2 separate regions of the Homo sapiens genome follow, and region 2 is linked to region 1. Evidence: promoter capture Hi-C in 16 types of primary human blood cells and fetal thymus (Javierre and others, 2016). All regions are on one chromosome and are shown on one strand. Each heading gives the region's core, a stretch centred on a gene start or on the middle of the fragment in contact. The rest is flanking DNA. Distances are from core to core; before and after follow the strand shown.

Region 1 (2,700 bases), core at 93-2,592:
TGCTAGAAACCGTTGTCTTCATAGCTGAATTCAACTGACTCAATTCGGACTCAATTGTATGTAAACTGTTTATTTTTCTTTCTTCTTTTTTGGAGACAGTTTCGCTCTTGTAGCCCAGGCTGGAGTGCAGTGGCACGATCTCGGCTCACTGCAACATCCGCCTCCCAGGTTCAAGCGATCCTCTTGCCTCAGTCTCCCGACTAGCTGGGATTACAGGCGCCCGCCACCACGCCCAGCTAATTTTTGTATTTTTAGTAAAGACAGGGTTTCGCCATGATGGCCAGGCTGGTCTCGATCTCCTGACCTCAGGTGATCCACCCTCCTCGGCCTCCCAAAGTGTTGGTATTACAGGTGTGTCAGACACTGCGCCCAGCCTACTGTAAGTAAACTCTTTTGAGGCCAGGAACTCTGTCTTATTTCTTGTGCATCACCCCCTCCCCACCACCCCCCCGCACCCGGCAAAAAAAAAAAAAAATTAATAACCTCAGTATCATCTAATTCAATGTTCTGCACATATTCTCAATACAAAGCCATACTATTGTAGATAAAGAGTCTGTGATTAAAATAAAGATCAGATCCTGGACAAACGCTGAATTGTGAAACGATAAGTGTTTGTGCTTAAGATAATCTCAACGTCTACAACGAAGAAAAGTGTCAAAGATAAGATGCCACAGGGTCGGACAATGGACAGTAACTTTACTGGAAAGGGGGCACAATGAACAAAACTAAGTGGAAACAAGAGTTCTCTCAGTTTACCTTACGCTCCCAGAGCAAGACAAGAAGCCAAATATCTATTTTTCAATTATTATTTCATCAATTATGGTCATTTTAGTAACCTTAGCTTCCAAAGTATAAAGAGGTGTCACTAAGCAAAGACCCCAGTCCATGTGACTTTCAATGCCAAACACAAACTTTCTTGTACCCTCAATTAATTGGGTAACGTAGGCCATGGATGATCAGGACATTCTCTCCAAGAGGGTACAAGAAAGTGACACAGGTCAGGATTTAATTTCCCCTCCTCTATCCCCTGTTAGGGGAGGTAAAACATAAATGTAGTTAATACCTGAATTGTGAATAAGTGAAACTTTCGAGACTGCCCCAGACTAACATGACCTTCTCACCACACTCGTAGTACAAACTGACAGCACAGAAGACCCCCTCCAGGAGAAAGGACGACGGGAAGCCAATGTAGGACTTACCTGGTTTCTCTATCCTATGGTTAAACCTCTGGAGCTACGCAGACCGTGGCAGCGATAAATCCACGTACGCAGGCTCCAACAAAGCTCACACAATCGGAGAAGTCACAGTAGCTGCGGCTGCGGCGGCGGCAGCAACAACTCCTCCCTCTGCTTCTCTTTTCCCACCCCCCGCCGCGGCGGCCAGCCGCCTTTACCCCTCCCTCCCTCGACTACCCCCACTTCCGGGTGATGCCCCTGCCGGAAGCAGGGCCGCCACGGGAAAGAGAGCGACTGGTCACGTGAAAAGGAACGCGTGGTCTAGAGCCAGCTTCTCCTGCCCCCTGCTGCCCCCGGGCCGACACGCAGCCTCGAGTGGGTCTTTGTTAGGGTACGAGTCCACTATCCCACCCCGCCCCCACGACAAAAGCGAAACCAGAAAACCCATACTAAAACAGTGCCTTTGTCATCTTTAGTTTCCTAACCTCAGGCCAAGATGTAACATAAAAGATCCTTATAAGTCATCTTCCACATAGTTCATCTTTGCCTAGCATGAAATTCACGTGCATCTGTTAGACTGTGTTAACTGCCAAGATGTAACATAAAAGCTCCTTATAAGTCATCTTCCACATAGTTCATCTTCGCCCAGCATGAAATTCACGTGCATCAGTTAGACTGTGTTAACTGCCAAGATGTAACATAAAAGCTCCTTATAAGTCATCTTCCACATAGTTCATCTTCGCCCAGCATGAAATTCACGTGCATCTGTTAGACTGTGTTAACTTGCTTCCCGTAGACTGTGTAGCCTAATTCCAGATGTAAGTGCCAGAACTATGAATTTATCCTCTTCCCTCCATTGAAAAATTACATCAAGAGGAAAATGTTTATAAATTCATAATTTTTATATGTGTGTTGAGGGGGTAGGGACGTCACTTCACCACCTTCATAGCGCCATTCCAAGCTCTGAACCACTCCCCCATTTATTCATTCACTCGTCCATCATTTTACACACCTAGAAGATTCCGGTGATGCAAAAGTGTTACAGTCTCTGTTACCATGAGTTCATTTAGAAATGAGATGCATAAAATGTAAACAATGCAATAAATGGTACAGAAAACATTTGAAAAAAGGGTCATTTTATTCTTGCTTTCCAACTTAACATTTTGAAAAGCAGCAAAATTCTAGGATTTTTAAAACTATGAACATTAACAGTAAAAAGAGGGAGAGGCTCCATCTCACTTATTTCAAAGCAAGATGTGGCCTTTTCATATTTCCTTTCATGAAGTATCTGTCATAAGATGTAGAACAAAACTAATCACAGGACTATTTGTATTTTCATCTGGAACCATTTGAACCCAGTTCCCACAGAAGAGTATGAAGCCTAATAATGTTGCAGAAATCAAAATAGTACACAAAATACAAATATCAAGTAAATATTTGTAAAAGACTTAGAACAGCGTCCGGCACAAAGTAAGCATATTTAAGTGTTGAAATAATTTCCATCCTAGCTGTTGTCAAGTCCCTA
Region 2 (2,700 bases), core at 110-2,609, 3.3 Mb before region 1:
TTAGCTGCTGCTCTAAAGCTCAAGAAGAGGGAAGGGGTTCCTATACCCTACAATCTGAACCCACACATCTGTTCTTGCCACTGTCTGCCTTTCTCTTGAGTTGTAAAAAGCAGAAGCACTTTCATTTATCATGGATATACACTCATCTTGCACCCCAGTTTATCATATTCTCCCGACAGCTGCTGAAAATTTGTTATTCTAAATTAAGAGTAAGTGAATCCATGAAAGAGAAAGTCCTATCATTTGAAGCAGCAGCAACTCAGGCTGCCACTACACAAGAAGCCACTGAGCTCCCTATCCAGTTCTCAATATACTTGAAGCAGTGAGAGAAATTTAAAAGTAAAATATTTTGAAAGAATAGAAACAGTCAAAATAAGGGACAATATGGGGGGAAAACTGAATCTCGTGTCATATTAAGTTAAAAAAAAATTTACGTCATTGTTACCAACTTCCCCTCCCAATTTGTCTAGTTCTAACAGGCCTTCAAGCTCAAGTTAACCACTTTCTTCTACACACTCTCAAAATAACTCTATTACCAGGGTCTCACTCACCCAGAATAATTACAATGCCTCGGTAGGCCTCCACTCAATCCCCACCAGTTACAGCATGTGTACCCCCATCCTTTACAGAAGTGCACTCCTCCTTGTCTCAGTACTTAGGGCGTATTCATCAAATGTCTCACTCTTGAAACTCACCAGTGTGCGATTTTACTTGACTTCACGTAACCCTAAAGACCGTATAGCACCATCTCCCATCTCCCAAAACTTGGTAGCTTTCGTTTTCCTTCAAAGCAGAAATGTGCCCCCCAACGTCACGAAGCAAACAAAGCTGAACTCTATGTGGAAAAAAAAAAAAATGAAATCGATGCAACAAAGGGAAAAAAGGGAAGAAGAAGGGTGGGATCGGGGATGCATGAGTCTTCCAAAGGAGAAGCTGCCAGAGGAACTTCTGCATTTTAATGGTTCTGGGGCAGCAGAGGACTGGTGTGTAGGAAAACAACAAAGGTGGACTCCCCACTCTCCTTACCGCTGTAGAGCCAGAGGAAGATGCAATATATACACGGATCACCATCCTGGGAACAGCGGCTGCGGTTGTTTGGGTCCTGAAAAGGGCTGTGGAGCAGCTGCAGCAATGGCTGGAATCCAGCTAGGGGCTGAAACAGCGGTTGGCAGAGAAGGGTGGGGGAAGGTGGAAGGAGAACTCGCCAGAGCCCCGCCTCCGCCTTTAGCAGCTTCCACCGAGCTCTCTAAGCGCTGCAGTTCCAGCCCAAAACCCCGGAAGGAACAGGCTGTTTGCATCAATTCTATTTTTTTTTAATAGGGAATCTCGAATAGCACCGCGAGATCTGTTGAAACATTGATTTTTGACGATTCCTTCCCTGAGAAGAGGGCGAGGAGAAGAAGAAAGAAAAAGGAGAACTGAATTGAATTAGATTAGCATGAAGGACCTTTTCACGCGGAGACTAAAAGTACTGCGCATAACTTCCTGCTCAGAAATATATGCAAATAAGAAGACAGATCCTGAAAGAGCAAGCTGTATGTTGAAAACCCATGTTCTCAAAGCCTTGCGCATTTTAAGATTCCTATTACGTAGTGATTTTTCTGATCTTAGCTCGTTGTAGGAATTAGGCACTAAAGTACTGAGCAATGCTGCAGAGTTTTGAAGGAAAGTTTCAGGTTTCCTTAAGCCCAGAAATGGCAGGATTGGTTTTCTTTTTGAATTTTGTGTTTTGTTAAATTAGGGAACCCTGCTTCCGTGGGAATTTGCAGGAGGCCTGATTGGCAAGTTTAAGAATGAAGGAATAAATTACAAAGAAAAGATTGAAAATATTGTGTAAAAAGATGGATGATTTTTGTTTTGTTTTGCTTTTTAACTGACTGAAGTAAGGGATTTGGGAGAACATATTGCAGATGTTGAAATGGTGAAGAGAGAGATCAGATGGTTATTTGTAGCTCTAAGGAAATGAGCAAACAGTTAATAATGTCCAGAGACAGACCATATACTTCAAAGTGTAGTTTTAGGTTCCCAGATTATGTTAAATGAACAGAAAAAAAGGAATTTGCAAGATGAATGAGAGTGGAGAGGAGTCAGTCGCTTGTCCTACTTCTTTTCCTTTGCTGTTTTTCCACTGTCTCCAGTCTAGTGGTTTACTGTCTTTGCCTAGGCTCAGTGCTTACAATAGCTTTGTTAACTGTTCCCTACCCACAGGTTTTCCCTTCTCCAATCTGTCTTAAATACTAATTCCAAATTAATCTCTTTACATGTTGTCCTTAAAACAACCTCAAGAGGTGGGTACTATTACATTAATTTTACAGATGAAGAAACTGAAACTCAGAAAAATAGTTTTCCTAAAATCATATGGTTAGTACATTCCAGAGTTAGGAACTCCAGAGGCCACCTTCTTATTTTTTTTTAATTATACTTTAAATTCTAGGGTACATGTGCACAACGTGCAGGTTTGTTACATAGGTATACATGTGCCATGTTGGTTTGCTGCACCCATCAACTCGTTGTTTACATTAGGTATTTCACCTAATGCTATCACTCCTCCAGCCCCCCACCCCCCGACTGGCCCCGGGGTGTGATGTTCCCTGTCCTGTGTCCATGTGTTCTCATTGTTCAACTCCCACATATGAGTGAGAACATGTGGTGTTTGGTTTTCTGTCCTTGTGATAGTTTGCTTAGAATGATGGTTTCCAG

The links. The method cuts DNA at HindIII sites, captures the fragments that hold promoters and counts their contacts. A CHiCAGO score of 5 or more calls a contact.
Region 2: a contact is called between the fragment with the promoter of HMGN5 here and the fragment with the promoter of ATP7A in region 1, in 1 of 17 cell types (fetal thymus). The highest score is 6.7, in fetal thymus.

Annotation. Positions count from the first base shown.
Region 1 is chrX:77,909,335-77,912,034 of GRCh38, reverse strand. ATP7A (ATPase copper transporting alpha) reads right to left here and starts at 1,342. Exons shown (of 23, transcript NM_000052.7): 1 at 1,200-1,342. The HindIII fragment of the contact is 7,135 bases long and covers 1-2,700 here.
Region 2 is chrX:81,200,572-81,203,271 of GRCh38, reverse strand. It overlaps HMGN5 (high mobility group nucleosome binding domain 5), which reads left to right and starts at 1,359. Exons shown (of 7, transcript NM_030763.3): 1 at 1,359-1,535. It overlaps SH3BGRL (SH3 domain binding glutamate rich protein like), which reads right to left and starts at 1,170. Exons shown (of 4, transcript NM_003022.3): 1 at 1,027-1,170. The coding sequence starts at 1,071. RefSeq lists enhancers at 975-1,144, 1,265-1,514. The HindIII fragment of the contact is 6,013 bases long and covers 1-2,700 here.